Linked DNA regions of Homo sapiens: regions 1, 3, 4 and 5 are each linked to region 2. Evidence: promoter capture Hi-C in 16 types of primary human blood cells and fetal thymus (Javierre and others, 2016). All regions are on one chromosome and are shown on one strand. Each heading gives the region's core, a stretch centred on a gene start or on the middle of the fragment in contact. The rest is flanking DNA. Distances are from core to core; before and after follow the strand shown. Region 1 overlaps MINDY1 (MINDY lysine 48 deubiquitinase 1). Region 2 holds the start of CTSK (cathepsin K). Region 3 overlaps LOC107985203 (a long non-coding RNA gene). Region 4 overlaps GOLPH3L (golgi phosphoprotein 3 like). Region 5 overlaps GOLPH3L (golgi phosphoprotein 3 like).

Evidence for each region. Contacts are between HindIII fragments. The CHiCAGO score rates a contact against its expected background, and 5 or more counts as called.
Region 1: a fragment that was not itself captured here is called in contact with the fragment with the promoter of CTSK in region 2 in 1 of 17 cell types (M1 macrophages); the score reaches 5.4 in M1 macrophages.
Region 3: a fragment that was not itself captured here is called in contact with the fragment with the promoter of CTSK in region 2 in 3 of 17 cell types (erythroblasts, megakaryocytes and endothelial precursors); the score reaches 7.4 in erythroblasts.
Region 4: a contact is called between a fragment that was not itself captured here and the fragment with the promoter of CTSK in region 2, in 2 of 17 cell types (endothelial precursors and megakaryocytes). The highest score is 6.7, in endothelial precursors.
Region 5: a fragment that was not itself captured here is called in contact with the fragment with the promoter of CTSK in region 2 in 3 of 17 cell types (endothelial precursors, megakaryocytes and erythroblasts); the score reaches 6.4 in endothelial precursors.

Annotation. Positions count from the first base shown.
Region 1 is chr1:150,998,332-151,001,869 of GRCh38, reverse strand. MINDY1 (MINDY lysine 48 deubiquitinase 1) reads left to right here. Exons shown (of 10, transcript NM_001376665.1): 3 at 88-145; 4 at 556-620; 5 at 1,255-1,413; 6 at 1,906-2,008; 7 at 2,359-2,501. Among named protein-coding and RNA genes, the nearest start is that of MINDY1, 6.8 kb to the left of the region's middle. The HindIII fragment of the contact is 1,422 bases long and covers 694-2,115 here.
Region 2 is chr1:150,806,549-150,809,509 of GRCh38, reverse strand. CTSK (cathepsin K) reads left to right here and starts at 1,250. Exons shown (of 8, transcript NM_000396.4): 1 at 1,250-1,296; 2 at 2,704-2,824. The coding sequence starts at 2,705. The HindIII fragment of the contact is 11,451 bases long and covers 717-2,961 here.
Region 3 is chr1:150,589,277-150,592,590 of GRCh38, reverse strand. All of the region lies in intron 2 of LOC107985203 (a long non-coding RNA gene), which reads right to left. Among named protein-coding and RNA genes, the nearest start is that of MCL1, 11 kb to the right of the region's middle. The HindIII fragment of the contact is 6,180 bases long and covers 1-3,314 here.
Region 4 is chr1:150,649,394-150,652,439 of GRCh38, reverse strand. The region is part of intron 4 of GOLPH3L (golgi phosphoprotein 3 like); the gene reads left to right. Among named protein-coding and RNA genes, the nearest start is that of ENSA, 21 kb to the right of the region's middle. The HindIII fragment of the contact is 2,275 bases long and covers 336-2,610 here.
Region 5 is chr1:150,668,823-150,672,130 of GRCh38, reverse strand. All of the region lies in intron 2 of GOLPH3L (golgi phosphoprotein 3 like), which reads left to right. Among named protein-coding and RNA genes, the nearest start is that of GOLPH3L, 27 kb to the left of the region's middle. The HindIII fragment of the contact is 5,826 bases long and covers 1-3,308 here.

The DNA.
Region 1 (3,538 bases), core at 155-2,654, 190 kb before region 2:
CTGGAGCTCCCCCTTGCCTTTCCATGGGTTCTTCCTTCAGTGCTCTTTGGAGGAAAGCACACACGTGATCACCCCTTCTGCCTCCAGGTGAAGCTCCCCCCGCAGAAGGAAGTGATCACATCGGATGAGCTCATGGCCCATCTTGGTGAGTGACTGGGCGTTGAAGAGGAATTACCCAAGGGGCTCCAGAGCTATCCACTCAGCCAGAAATCCAGACTATTCAGGGATCTCCATTTGGGGGTTCTGATACAGCAGGGAGGGTAAGGGTCTATGGGGCTTCTCTGCAAGGCTGGAGAATGAAAAGCAAAGGCGTCGGGAGTCCTGGGTTGTAACACCAATTCTGCCCTTAGCTTTTGTATCTGACCCTGGGTGGGCCGTTCACCTTTATGAGGCTGTCGCCTCCTCTGAGAAATGAAGAGTCTGGATTAGACTCTAAGTATTTTCCAGCTCTGAAAATCTGTGTTCTGTGACATTACCCGCATTCTCCAGGAGAAGAGGAAACTTAGCTTTTGGGATGATTGGTGGGGTAAGCTGATAAGGGGCCCTGTCTTGTAGGAAACTGCCTCCTGTCCATCAAGCCCCAGGAGAAGTCAGAGGGACTTCAGCTTAATTTTCAGCAGGTGAGGCAAAAGGTCTGCAGGCATAGGGGTTTGCAGGTTTGTAAGGGGACATCTTGTAATACTAAGATAAGCTTTTGTTGCTTCTTCAGAGGTTTCCTTGAACCATGATTTCATTCTGCAGGAGTCAGAGGAGAGTTTATCTTTGTCCTAGAAAATATGTTCATTGGCCGGGTGCTCACACCTGTAATCCCAGCACTTTGAGATGCCAAAGCGGGAGGATCACTTGAGGCCAGGAGTTCGAGGCCAGCCTGGGCAACATAATAATACCCCTGTCTCTAAAAAAAACCATTTTTTTTTTCAAGAATTAGCCAGGTATGGCGGTGCGTGCCTGTAGTCCCAGCTACTCAGGAGGCTGAGGTGGGAGGGTCACTTGAAACCAAGAGTTTGAGGCTGCAGTGAGCTAGGATCACACCACTGCACTCCAGCCTGGATGAAAGAATTAGACTTAGACTCTCAAAGAAAAACAATGTTCATTTATATAAGATAGAGAAGGGTTGAGGCAAGGGAGAAATGGAGTGGCTTGTAAGAGAATCAGGGAAGAAGAGCAGCAAGGTTAATTTTTAATTTCTGCAGGTGGGAGTGGAGTGGTGGGAGAGAAGGCTAGAATCTCCATCATTTTTTTTTCTACCCCCAGAATGTGGATGATGCAATGACAGTGCTGCCTAAACTGGCCACAGGTCTGGATGTCAATGTGCGATTCACAGGCGTCTCTGATTTTGAGTATACACCCGAGTGCAGTGTCTTTGACCTGCTAGGCATACCTCTGTACCATGGCTGGCTTGTTGATCCACAGGTGAGGGTGGGAGGGCCCACTGGGACCTTATCCAGCTCAAGCTGACATGAGAGAGGCAAATTTTTGTCGGGTAGAGGTTAGGGAGTTAGGGGTTAGATTGGCTTGGGAGGGAAATAGTGTTTAGAGACTGGACCCAGTACAGAATTCCTTGAATTTTAATCTATTTTGGGGGTAACATGCAAATACAAGCAAACTACATGCAAATAGGTCAGTTCTTTAGACATCAAAAATTCAGGAAGCAGATGGGTTTGGTGGCACATGCCTGTATTCCCAGCTACTTGGGAGGAGTTCGAGGCCAGTCTGGGCAACATAGCAACCCTATGATGAATGGTTCCTGAAATTTTTTTCTTTTTTGAGAGACCAAAAAAAAAAAGTGTTTAGGAACCATTCATCACAGGGTTGTAGTCCTTGTGAGCTTTGTTCATTTCCTTCCTTAAAAAAGAAAAAAAAATCCCAATTTTTTTGGTATCCCACATCCCACTACCCAAGCAGAGTCCTGAGGCTGTGCGTGCAGTTGGGAAACTGAGTTACAACCAGCTGGTGGAGAGGATCATCACCTGCAAACACTCCAGTGACACCAACCTCGTGACAGAAGGTGACATTCCTCCCCTTCTCATGGATAGTATGTGGAGGGAATGACAGCTACTTAGGCTTATTTTTTATTGGGTGTCATCTCCTACCACATCCCACTAGATATAAGCTTCACAAGAAGGAGCTTGGGGAATTTCTGTTTAGTTCATTGAGGTATCCCCAGTGCCTGGCACAAGGTAGCTGCTCTATTATAAGTATTTGTTAAGTGAATGAATACAGCCAGGTTTCAAGAAAGGGACGTCAGAAGGTGGGACTGACCCCCCGGGGCTTTTGACAGGGGCTCTCTGGATGGTCCTTCCTGTTGTGGACCTTGAATTTAAGCCAAGTTTCCCCCGACTCGTCCCTTTCTGGCAGGCCTGATTGCAGAGCAGTTCCTGGAGACCACCGCGGCCCAGCTGACCTACCACGGACTGTGTGAGCTGACAGCAGCTGCTAAGGAGGGTGAACTTAGCGTCTTTTTCCGAAACAACCACTTTAGCACCATGACTAAGCATAAGGTAATGCGAGTTTGGGGGTGGCGTGCTGCGGTGCTGTCATTTCCTGGTGCCTTTTTCTCGTGGGTCCAGCTGGGATCAGCTAGATTAAGCCGTGGTAGCAAGTGACCCCTCAAATCCCTGTGGTTTACCACAACAAAGGTTCATTTCCCGCTCCTGGTGCGTGTCCACTGTGGACTGGCTACGGTTCTGTCCCACACCATCTTCACTCTGGGACCCAGCTGACAAAAGATCCTTTATCTGGAATATATGTGGGAACAGAGAGAGAGAGGGGCACTGTGCACTCATGCTTAGAGCTTCTGTTTGGAAATGACACATGTCATTTCTGCTCACATCTTCTGGCCAGAGCAAGCCATAAGGGATAAGCCTGCCGTCGATGGGACAGGAAAGTATGATCCTCCCCTAGGAGGGGGCAGTGGAATTTTTAAACAATGCTGGTCTTCAAAAGTTAGAAACTGCCAAAGCTCTCTAGGATTTGAGCAGCAGAGGGAGGGGTCTCTGGTTCTCAAAGGATTTATCCTAAGAGCCATCAGGCAAGCCCAGAGAACAATGGGAAATGGGGGGAGCAGGGTCTTATGTGGCATCTCAGCCCCAACGACTCCATGCCACGCTTAGCCAGAATGACCACCGTGCTCACACCCAACTGGACATACACTCAGACATCCCTTTCTTCCCCCCAAGGCCACACATATTTGTAAAAGGTCCGCATGCTCAGGGTCCGGGTGCGGTGGCTCATGCCTGTAATCCCAGCACTTTGGGAGGCCGAGGCGGGCAGATCATGAGGTCAGGAGATCGAGGCCATCCTGGCTAACACGGTGAAACCCCGTCTCTACTAAAAAAATACCAAACATTAGCCAGGCATGGTGGCGGGTGCCTGTAGTCCCAGCTACTTGGGAGGCTGAGGCAGGAGAATGGTGTGAACCTGGGAGGCAGAGCTTGCGGTGAGCAGAGATTGTGCCACTGCACTCCAGCCTGGATGACAGAGCGAGACTCCATCTCCAAGAAAAAAAAAGTCCACATGCTCATACCGAGATTTCTGG
Region 2 (2,961 bases), core at 1-2,500:
AGCTTCCCAAGTAGCTGGCACTACAGGTGTGTGCCACCATGCCCAGCTAATTTTTGTGTTTTTTTTTTTTAGTAGAGATGGGGTTTCACTATATGTTGGCCAGGCTAGTCTCGAACTCCTGACCTTAGGTGATCCACATGCTTTGGCCTCCCAAAGGCCTGGGATTACAGGCGTGAACCACTGCGCCTAGCCTGTTAGCAGCTCTTAAAATCCAGAGGCATAAGCCTGTATTTTTGAGGGTTTATGCATGGAATCCAGCTAGAAACTGAGTCTATTACAGATCCCATTTATTATCCTTTCTATTCCAAGAAGCCTTTTTTTCTCCTTCCCCACATCTGTTTATGGAAGAAAATGAAGTTTGGGGTGTGGTTTGAGGAATCAGCTAGATTCTTATGATCTGTCACATGCTTGGATGTTGGGGAAGCATTTGGAGAAGCTCATGTGACTTGTCCTAGATTGGGGATTTTAATTGAGACAGATGATGTTTATCGGGCATCCCACCACCTGAGAGTTTTAGCAACAGAGTCACATGTGAGTCCATCAGAACTTACGGCATTGATTCAAGTGCTGTCATAAATAACCAGGACTGCTGTTTTTGGTTACTTTTAAAGACAGTTTCATCTGGACTTTCTGGGCATATCCTCCTTCAGCAAAACCACATTAGGCTGGGAAAACTATTCTGCCTGGAAGTAATGACAACTTGCAACCAACAAGCTTATAAAAATACAAAGAATTCTGGAGCCTATGGCTTCCATTACATTATTCTTTTATAGCCTTTTATGTTCATTACCGCATCCCAGAGGTGAGAGTCAGACACAAATATGAAAATAGGTTTCAATGTTGGAGAGGTAAATCCTAACAGGAAAGGGGTAGGAAAAGATATAATCCCCCAATATTAAAATAAAGATATTGAAGAAGAAGGATGGGAGAGACTAGGGCTGTGTCCTTCCTTTTACTCACCAAAAGAGAAAGTAAGCTCCTATTTGAGTCAATAGATATTGAGGTCTTGTTATTTGCCACCAAAGACAGTCTTGTGAGACTAAATAGCTAGTAATTCCCTACCCTGGCACACATGCTGCATACACACAGAAACACTGCAAATCCACTGCCTCCTTCCCTCCTCCCTACCCTTCCTTCTCTCAGCATTTCTATCCCCGCCTCCTCCTCTTACCCAAATTTTCCAGCCGATCACTGGAGCTGACTTCCGCAATCCCGATGGAATAAATCTAGCACCCCTGATGGTGTGCCCACACTTTGCTGCCGAAACGAAGCCAGACAACAGATTTCCATCAGCAGGTAACGTTTGCAACTTCCTAGATCTTTTAGCTTTTCATTCCTGTCAATTCTCTGAGTATTAGGGATGTAGTGACTTGAGGATCACAATAAACTTTTAGCCTCTGCAGATGAAAACAGAGATGCACTTCTTAGGTCATTCCCTGGCTAAATAAAATCTGCCTGGAAATCTGTAGAATTCCTTGTATGATTTATATATATACATACATGATTGTTAGTAAAAGCAAAGTATATAGGGAATCATTTCCCCATCCTTCAAGAGTGGCCTTTCTGCAGTGTTTTCTACTTTGGCCAACAAGGATCAAAACGGTTAACTCCTTAGTGAGGAGGAGGAGAGTGGTATGGGGAGGTAGTAGCTCAGTGCTTCCTGTTCACTGAGACATCTCAAAGCCCTTAACACTCTAGTTTTTAAATGTCCTACTGGACATTTTGCCAGTTTGCAAAATTACATGTAAATGGACTATAAGCAATTGTGTAAGCCATATGTCATGCTGCAGGCTGCAAATTGTTCTTAAAATGGAGGATTTGTAATTAAGAAAGCCAATGCAAGAAATGAGTGAAGCTAACTAGAGTAAACTTATGAAAAGCTGTGAATTTCATCATCATAGAACATTGCTTTTCAGTCTGAACATTCTTCTAACAAACCTTGGATCTGAGGCTTCTTGTCCTTTGCGGCAGCCACAGTGGGTTTTTGTTGTTAGGGGAAAAATAAAAAACCTTGCCCGCAGCATCTGGTTAAGATTAGGGCAGTTTCCTGCCTAAGGAGGGAAGGGAGAGAAAAAGGAAGAAGAAATGCATAAGGAGAATGAGGAGATATACAATGTCTCAGAAAACAGGAAACATTGTCCTATTTTCCCTTGTCCTCTTCTGACAAGATCTGGGAAAGTACCAGAATTTAGGCACGAAAGAGAAGAACGCCTCGAAGAAATGATCAGGAGGCAAAACTTAGACGGAAATCTCTCCTTTGTGTATTCTGAACCCCACTACCACCTTGCTATTTGTCTGTCTCCAAGCCTGCTAGGGACCCTGGAGGAAACGCACTGAGCCCATTCTGATTGTCCAGTTTCTATCCCCCATTTCTGGTTGTGTACGTGTGTGTGTGTGTGTGTGTGTGTGTGTGTGTGTGTGTGTGTGTGAGAGAGAGAGAGACAGAGAGAGAAACAGAGAGAGTGTGTGTTGCCTAAATCTCCCGAGAGAGAGAGAGAGAGAGAAAGAGAGAAATGGCTAAATCCCCCTAGATCAAAGTCCTTGGAACCAGATGTACCAGCATCCTATCTAAACACAGGCCCCTCCTGACTATCATTGTTTTATCACCCTTTTTCCGTCTACCTTTCTCTTCCTCATAAAGCCTAGTTTTCCTCTGTTTCCCTGCCAAATGGAAGAGTTTTCCCTAACTACATTCTTCTGCAGGATGTGGGGGCTCAAGGTTCTGCTGCTACCTGTGGTGAGCTTTGCTCTGTACCCTGAGGAGATACTGGACACCCACTGGGAGCTATGGAAGAAGACCCACAGGAAGCAATATAACAACAAGGTGCCTGGGGTCCTGGAGGGGGCATGGCAGGAAGGCTGAGACCTGAGCTCTCTCATCTTAGCTTCCAGACTCCCTTCTTCAATCCAAATGCTTTATTCCAAGCAAATCAGTCCCTCTTCCCTAACTCATGTTAACAT
Region 3 (3,314 bases), core at 598-3,097, 220 kb after region 2:
TCCGTCTCAAAAAAAAAAAAAAAAAAAAAAAAGGAAAGGGTAAACCAGTAAATACCCACCTTGAAAAAAGAGACAGCAAGGAAATGTCCCTACTGCAATCTTGGCTCTGAATCAGGGGTGGAAGTCGAGGATTGTGAAGACCTCCCCTGAGTATTCACAGGCTAGTCTTCATGAGTTTATAGTCTAAGTTTATACTACCTGAATAGACAGAAACACTTCAAGCCCAGAATTTTATTTATTTATTTATTTACTTACTTACTTACTTATTTACTTACTTACTGAGATGGAGTCTCCCTCTGTTGCCCAGGCTGGAGTGCAATGGCGTGATCTTGGCTCACTGTAACCTCTGCCTCCCGGGTTCATGCCATTCTCCTGCCTCAGCCTCCCAAGTAGCTGGGATTACCGGCACCCACCACAATGCCCGACTAATTTTCGTATTTTTAGTTGAGACGGGTTTCGCCATGTTGGCCAGGCTGGTCTCGAACTCATGACCTCAAGTGATCTGCCCACCTGGGCCTTCCAAAGTGCTGGAATTACAGGCATGAGCCACCAAGCCCGACCAAGCCCAGAATTTATTTTAAAGTAGTTACAGGGTGATAGTAACCTAATTGTCAGGCACTGCAGAGAACGAAATACAGATCCTCTCTGGAGAAAGTCACCTTCAAGGCAAACCTAAAAAAAATCCCTGGAGTTCAGATGATAAACTATAAGGAAAAAAAATCCCTATTGTTAAGTTCCTTTGAATATGTGTTCACTAATAAAAATCCCACAAACACAAAGCAACAGGAAGTAGGCCACCATAAATGAGAATGAGCAGAAATCATAAATAGCAGAATTATGCCCACAGAGACTTTGGATATTAGAATTATATTGCTGCATATAAAGAAGTATGTTTGCCAGGAGCGGTGGCTCACACCTGTAATCCCAGCACTGTGGGAGACCGGAGGTGCGTGGATCACCTGAGGTCAGGAGTTGGAGACCAGCCTGGCCAATATGGTGAAACCCCGTGTCCACCAAAAATACAAAAATTAGCCGGGCGTGGTAGCACGTGCCTGTAGTCCTGGCTACCTGGGAGGCTGAGGCAGGAGAATCACTTGAACCCGGGAGGCGGAGGTTGCACTGAACCAAGATCATACCACTGCACTCCAGTCTGGGTGACAGAGCAAGACTCCATCTCAAAACAAAACAAAAAAGAAGTATGTTTAATATATATAAAAGCCTGATTCAAGCACCGGACAGAAAAAATAATGTATCACTAGGGAATAAATCACTAAAAATGACAAGACTTCCATAACCATTGCTTGGTTTAAAAAAAAAAAAAAAAAAAAAAAAACAGGCCAGGTGCGGTGGCTCACACCTGTAATCCCGGCACTTTGGGAGGGCAAGGCAGGCAGATCAGGAGGTCAGGAGTTCGAGAGTAGCCTGGCCAACATGGTGAAACCCCGTCTCTACTAAAAATACAAAAATCAGCTGGGCGTGATGGCACATGCCTGTAATCCCAGCTACTCGGGAGGCTGAGGCAGGAGAGCTGCTTGAACTCGGGAAGCAGAGGTTGCAGTGAGCCGAGATCACGCCATTACATTACAGCCTGGGTGACAGAGCAAGAATCTGACAAAAAAAAAAAAAGATTTTTAAAGGAACAATTTCTAGAAATGTAGATACAGTAATTCAACAAATAACTAAAGAAATAACTACATATATACTATGTCTATGTGTGTATGTGTATGTATATATAATATATACTGTGAAGGAAAATAAAGGGTGCCATGAAAACATATCACAGAGTGTTAGGGACTGAATTTTGCCTCCCTTCTCGCTACCCAAAATTCCTGTGTTGAAGTCCTAACCCCCAGTACCTCAGCCTGGGATTGCATTTGGAGAAAGGGTCTTTAAAGAAGTAACTAAGGTTGGCCGGGCACGGTGGCTCACGCCTGTAATCCCAGCACTTTGGGAGGCTGAGACTGGTGGATCACCTGAGGTCAGGAGTTTGAGACCAGCCTGGCCAACATGGTGAAAACCTGTATCTACTAAAAATACAAAAATTAGCCAGGCATGGGGGCATGTGCCTGTAATCCCAGGTACTTGGGAGGCTGAGGCAGGAGAATTGCTTGAACCTGGGAGGCAGAGGTTGCAGTGAGCTGAGATTGCACCATTGCACTCCAGCCTGAGTAACAAGAGTGAAACTCCATCTCAAAAAAAAAAAAAAAAAAAAAAGGGCACCGGACAAGATACAGCCATTTATAAGAGGCCCCAGAAGAAACAACCTTCGATACCTTGACCTTGGACTTCTAGCCTCCAGAAGTGTGAGGAAATAAATTTCTGTTGTTTAAGCCACTGAGCCTTTGGTACTTTGTTATGGCAGCCCCCAAAAACTAATACTTAAACAATTCATCTCTGGTTCTTCTTTCTCTTTTCCTGCCCACCTCTTAAACATTGGTATTCCTCAGAGTTCTACATGGTCCTCCTTTCTCCTGTTACATAGTCTTCCTGGATAAGAAAGGGCTCTACAATTAGACTTGAATTCAAATGCTAGCCATCAATTAAAAGCTGGCTATAAATTCCCAAATCTACATTTAATTTTCTTTTTGTATAAAAAATGGGGATAAGAATATGATATGTTTTTCTTAAGAGTTGTTGGGAGGACTAATAATAATAATAGGGTGGGTGAGGTGGCTCATGCCTATAATCCCAGCACTTTGGGAGGTTGGTGTGGGAAGAGCTCTTGAACCCAGGAGTTTAAGACCAGCCTGTGCAACATAGCAAGATTCTGTCTCTCCAAAAAAAAAAAAAAAAAAAAATTTAATTACCTATGTGTGGTAGTGTGTGCTTTTAGTCCCAGCTACTTGGGAGGCCAAGGCAGGAGGATCACTTCAGCCAAGGAGTTCAAGGCTGCAATAAGCTATGATCAAGCCACTGCCACTGCCACTTGCCTGGGCAACAGAGTGAGACTGCATCTCAGAAATAATATCTTTTCTTGGCCGGGTGCAGTGGCTCACATCTGTAATCCCAGCACTTTGGGAGGCTGAGGCGGGCAGATCACAAAGTCAGGAGTTTGAGACCAGCCTGGCCAACATAGTGAAACCCCGTCTCTATTAAAAATACAAAAAATTAGCCGAGAGTGGTGGCAGGCACCTGTAATCCCAGCTACTCAGGAGGCTGAGGCAGGATAATGGCTTGAACTCAGGAGGCAGAGGTTGCAGTGAGACAAGATTATGCCATTGCACTCCAGCCTGGGCGACAGAGTGAGACTCCATCTCAAAAATAATAATAATAATAATATCTTTTCTTCAGTACTAATTATGTGAAGGGACTGA
Region 4 (3,046 bases), core at 224-2,723, 160 kb after region 2:
TGCCTTCATTTTTGTTTTGTTTTTTTTAGGGTTTTTTTTTTTTTTTTTTTTTTTTTTTTGAGACAGAGTCTCACTCTGTCACCCAGTCTGGAGTGCGGTGGCACGATCTCAGCTCAATGCAACCTCCACTTCCTGGGTTCAAGTGATTCTCCTGCCTCAGCCTCCTGAGTAGCTGGGACTACAAGTGCATGCCACCACACCTGCTTTGCTTTTATTTCTGAAAGATAGTTTGCCAGTTATAAGATTCTTGGCTAATAGTTTCTACCCTCACTTTGAATAAGTCTACTCATTCTTCTGGCCTGCATTTTTTCTAATGGGAAGTCAGTTATTAAGCTTACAAAGTTCCACTGTGATGTGATAAGTCATTTTTCTCTTCTGCTTTCATGATTTTCCACTTATTTTTGGTTTTCAACATTTTTACTATGATGTTGGATATGGGTCTCTTTGTGTTCATCCAACTTGGAGTTTGTTGAACTTCTCCAATGTGTGGTTGAGTGTTTTTCATCACGTTTGGCAAGATTTTAGCCATTACTTTCTTGAGTATTTTTTCTGCCTCTTTCTCTCCTTTCCTTCTGGTGCTTCCATTTTATGTATGTTCATCAAGTTGATGATACTTTATATTTCTCTGAGTCTGTTCATTTTTCTTCATTCTCTTTTCTCCTTGTTCTTCATATTACATAATTTCTTTGATCTCTAAGTTTGCTAATTCTTTATTTTGCCAGCTCAGATCTCTTGTTGGATCCCTTGAGTGATTTTTTCATTTTGTTTGTTGTACTTTTTTTTTTTTTTTTTTTTTTGAGTTTCGCTCTGTCGCTGAGGCTGGAGTGTAATGGTGTGATCTTGGCTCATTGCAACCTCCGCCTCCTGGGTTCAAGTGATTCTCCTGCCTCAGCCTCCTGAGTAGCTGGAACTACAGGCACACACCACCATACCCGGCTAATTTTGTATTTTTAGTAGAGACAGGGTTTCACCATATTGGCCAGGCTGGTCTCAAACTCCTGGCTTCAAGTAATCCGCCTGCCTCAGCCTCCCAAAGTGCTGGGATTACAGACGTGAGCCACCATGCCCAGTCTGTTGTACTTTTAAACTCTAGGATTTCTAAATGGTTTTTTTGTTTTTGTTTTTTTGAGATGGAGTCTTGCTTTGTTGCCCAGGCTGGAGTGCAGTGGCACTATCTCAGCTCATTGCAGCCTCCACCTCCCAGGTTCAAGCGATTCTCTGCCTCAGCCTCCTGAGCAGCTGGGATTACAGGTGCCCACCATACCTGGCTAATTTTTGTATTTTTAGTAGAGATGGCGTTTCGCCATGTTGGCCAGGCTTGTCTTGAACTCCTGGCCTCAAATGATCCACCCACCTCAGCCTCTCAAAATGCTGGGATTACAGGCGTGAGCCACCGCACCTGGTCTAAATGGATCTTTTTTATAATTTCTGTCTTTATTTATATTCTCTATATGATAAGTCATGGTTTCCCTTAGGTCTTTGAACATATTTATAAAAGCTGCTTTATAGTCTTTGTAAAGTCCAACATTTTAGCGTTCTCAAAGGCAGTTTCCATTGCCTGCTTTTTTTCTTCTGAATGGGTCAATGGGTCACAATTTATTCTTTGTATACTTCATACTTTTTTGTCAAAAACTGGACATTTTAGATAATTGTGCAACTCTGGATACTACACTGCAGCTGTCCCCAACTTTTCTGGCACCAGGACAGGTTTCGTGGAAGACAGTTTTTCCACTGGGGTGGGAGACGGGGGGATGGTTTCGGTATGATTCAAGTGCATTGCATTTATTAGAGTCTCACAAGGAACATGCAACCTAGATCCCTCCCATGTGCAGTTCACAATAGGGTTCACACTCCTGTGGGAACCTAATGCCACTGCTGATCTGATGGGAGGCAGAGCTCAACTTTACTCACCCATGGCTCACCTCCTGCTGTGCAGCCGGGTTCCTAACAGGCTGCAGACCAGTACCAGTCCATGGTCCAGGGGTTGGGGACACCTGCTATACTGGTTTCTCCTTCCCACTAGAGGTTGATTGTGTTGTTTGCTTGGTAATTTGTTTCCTTAGTGACTTGCCTGCAGCAGCTCTCTGAAGTCTGTTTCTCTTGTAGTGTGCAGCCTCTGATGTCACTGCTCATATTTTCTTGTTTTTATCTTTTGGCCTAACTCCCTGTGTGTTGCCAGTGGGTCAGTAGAAGCCACTTATTAGTCAAAGGTTGTGCTTAAGACCTTTTAGCCAATTAAATTTTTTTATCCTTTACTGTTGGATATGTGTGTGTGATTTTGACATAGCCATCACAAATCAGGGAGTTTACATTTTGCCCCACATTCAGTGAGGAACTAGCAGCTTGGAAGTTCCCTCTCTGATTTCTTCTCGGAGAGAGTACATCCTTGGACATACACCAGGGATGTATGTGATTTTTTTAATTTTATTTTTATTTTTTATTTTTCATTTCTTGAGATGAAGTCTCACTCTGTCACTCAGGCTGGAGTGCAGTGGTACAATCTCAGCTGACTGAAACCTCCGCCTCCTGGGTTTTCCTGCCTAAGCCTCCAAGTAGCTGGGACTACAGGCGTGTACCACCACACCCGGCTATTATTATTATTTTTAAGCTTAGCTTTCTAGGAGTTGCCTCTGAGTTAGGGTAGCTTATTGTTCAGCCAGTGTTGGTTCAGTGGTTGTGCTTTAGCCCTTGGTGCCAGTGAAGCATCCACCCTTTTTTGATAGATCTATGTGTGGTCTGGGGAATACTCTCAAGTCAAGCCCCACGTCCTGCTCTGATTGCTCCTGAGTGGGTGCAGCCTGGTGCAAGCACACAGTCTTCCCAACCCCCAGTGTTGGTCATGATTCCAGAAGGACTTTTCTTGGCTTTCTGTTTCTCTGGTTCTGCCTGTTAAACTTCTGGAGGCTTTGCCATTTGGGTTTGTCATACCAGTGCCATAGAGCTAGCAGCACCTTGTAATTGCTCTCCACCAAGATCTCTATGGTTTTCAACACCCTTAGGCATAGAATTCTCCACACTGTGTTCCAAATAAAGTCAGTCCTCTCAG
Region 5 (3,308 bases), core at 683-3,182, 140 kb after region 2:
CATGGAAGGTGAAGCAATTTTAATGTTAAATCTTCAGACTTGGGGAGATGGAGGGGTTCTTTTTTTCTGAAAATTTTCCTTTAAAAAGTGATATTTTCTCACTGTAGATAATTTGGAAAGGTTAAAAAGCCATGTTTTAATGTAGACATTATTTTATATCATTGTAATAATCCTGGATACTCAATTATATATCTGGCTATTTTTCATTCAACTTTATCACAAGTATTTTCTAATGTTATTTTAAAAACTCCTTATGAGCATATTTTTTAATGATGCTTTAAGTTGTTTTGTTTTCTTTCCTCTTTTTTTTTTTTTTTTTTTTTTGAGACGGAGTTTTGCTCTCGTTGTCCAGGTTGGAGTGCAGTGGTGCGATCTCGGCTCACTGCAACCTCCGCCTCCCAGGTTCAAGCGATTCTCCTTGTCTCAGCCTCCCGAATAGCTGGGATTACAGGCATGCGGCACCACACCCGGCTAATTTTGTATTTTTAGTAGAGACAGTGTTTCACCATGTTGGCCAGGCTGGTCTCAAACTCTGACCTTAGGTGATCCGCCCGCCTTGGCCTCCCAAAGTGCTGGGATTACAGGCGTGAGCCACCGCGCCCGGCCCTTCTTTCCTCTTTTTTTGCCAAGCAGGCAACTTTTAAGATCTTTAACCTTCAGAGTTGTTTTAAGGTGTGTCTTCAAGGAAGTTTGAATAAGGAAGGGCACTTTGAATACTTGACTAAGTGGAAATTCAGCATAAAGTGTTGACTGTCTGAATTTATTGAATTCCCATTGTGCAATCTTTAAAGTTTAAATATGTGTAATATTTGACCCAGAATTTTCTTCTAGATATTCAACAGAAATACACACACAAATGAATACGTCTTTACTTTTTTTTTTTTTTCTTGAGATGGAGTCTTACTCTGCCGCCCAGGCTGGAGTGCAGTGGCACGAACTCACCTCCCTGCAGCCTCTGCCTCCTGGATTCATAGGATTCTCCTGCCTCACCCTCCTGAGTAGCTGGGATTACAGGCACGGGCCACCATGCCCGGCTAATTTTTTTGTATTTTTAGTGGAGACTGGGTTTCACCATGTTGGCCAGGCTGGTCTCAAACTCCTGACCTCAGGTGATCCACCCACCATGGCCTCCCAAAGTGCTGGGATTACAGGCTTGAGCCACCACACCCAGCCAACATTTTTTAATAATAACAAAATACTGTAAGCAACCTAAATGCACATCAGTAAGGGGCTTGGATAGATAAAATTATAATGCATGTAAAATGCAATACTATGCAGTCATTACAAGGGATGAAGAAGTATATTTACTGATGTGGAATGATACCCAGAATAATGGGTTAATGAAAAAAGTTACCACTCAGTGTAATGCCATTTCTAGAAATAATATTAATAAGTGTAAACATAGAATATGTATATAAAAATCTAGAAAAGTACCCATTAAACTGTTGGTAGTGATCCTCTAGAGGGGATAAGATTCTAGAACACTTTCACTTTCTAAAGTCTACATTTCTTTTTATTTATTTATTTATTTTTTGAGACAGAGTCTTGCTCTGTAGCCCAGGCTGGAGTGCAGTGGCACAATCTCGGCTCACTGCAAGCTCCGCCTCCTGGGTTCATGCCATTCTCCTGCCTCAGCCTCCCAAGTAGCTGGGACTACAGGCACCCGCCACCACGCCCGGCTAATTTTTTGTATTTTTAGTAGAGACGGGGTTTCACCGTGTTAGCCAGGATGGTCTCGATCTCCTGACCTCATGATCCACTCGCCTCAGCCTCCCAAAGTGCTGGGATTACAGGCGTGAGCCACCACACCCAGCCTAAAGTATACATTTCTATAATGGGATTTTTCTTTCTTTTTTACAATTTTTTTTGAGATGGAGTTTCAATCTTGTCGCCCAGGCTGGAGTGCAGTGGTGAGATCTCAGCTCACTGCAACCTCCACCTCTGGGGTTCAAGCAATTCTTCTGCCTCAGCTTCCTGAGTGGCTGGGATTACAGGCGTCTACCACCACACCTGGCCAATTTTTATATTTTTTAGTAGAAACGGGGTTTCACCATGTTGGCCAGGCTGGTCTTGAACTGCTGACCTCAGGCTATCCACCCACGTCAGCCTCCCAAAATGCTGGGATTACAGTCCTGAGCGACCACGCCGGGCCTGCAGTTTTTTTTTTTGAGACGGAGTTTTGCTCTTGTTGCCCAGGATGGAGTGCAGTGGTGTGATCTCAGCTAACTGCAACCTCCACCTCCCAGGTTCAAGTGATTATCCTGCCTCAGCCTCCTGAGTAGCTGGGATTACAGGCACGTGCCACCACACCCAGCTAATTTTTGTATTTTTAGTAGAGACAGGGTTTCATCATGTTGGCCAGGCTGGTCTCGAACTCCTAACCTCAGGTGATCCACCCGCCTTGACCTCCCAAAGTGCAGGGATTACAGGTGTGAGCCACCGCGCCCGGCCTACAGATGTATATTAAAGTCCACTATCTGAATATCTTATTCTGCAAATTCTCTGAGATTCTCCATTAGCCATGAGACAATGTGCAATTCCATCTGTGTTGGGTAGGTCCTAAAATTTTCTTTAGATAGCCTTTGGTAATGAGATTTAATGATCAAATGGTGAACTTTAGTATGTACGTGCTAGGTCTTCCTGCTCAGACATACCAAAGCATTGGCCATTTAATATAGAATCTTTATTATGAATGGCTGGAGAATTCACTAAGTTAGATAGATACACTAAGAGGAAAATGACCTTTAAATATAAATAATTGTATTTTCCCTTACCTCCAGGCTATTCTGCACCTAAATTTGTTTCAATCTGTTCTAAATATTACTATAGATGACAATATTATAATCTTTATTGGTCATATGTACCCACAGTACAGGGGAACATTTACTATCATGTTCTCTCTTTTCTCAGTTATTTTCTTTTTCTAAATCCAGTCTCTTTCTTGTAGTTATACAGGTGTTTGTTTTATAATTATTTTCTTAAAACTCTACATATATGTTTTTATACTTTTGTCTATTATTGCATATTCTTAATAAAAAAGTTAAAAACTCGTTTGGAAAGTTTTGTATGTTTTGAGATGCTACAATAGGAAAGTGTGACATTCAAAAATGTAGTTTCTTTATCCTGATCTTCATCATTTCTTTATACTGCTTCTCATTTATAGTTTTGTTGACAATCTGATGTCACTGTCACTGAAACAGAAGTTACATGGTCAGGAGGAAATGAGACAACAAAAGAAAACTTTCTTCCAGTTGCTTTAATATTGGCTAAAATGTTTGCACACCTGTTAAGATTTATTACGAGAATAA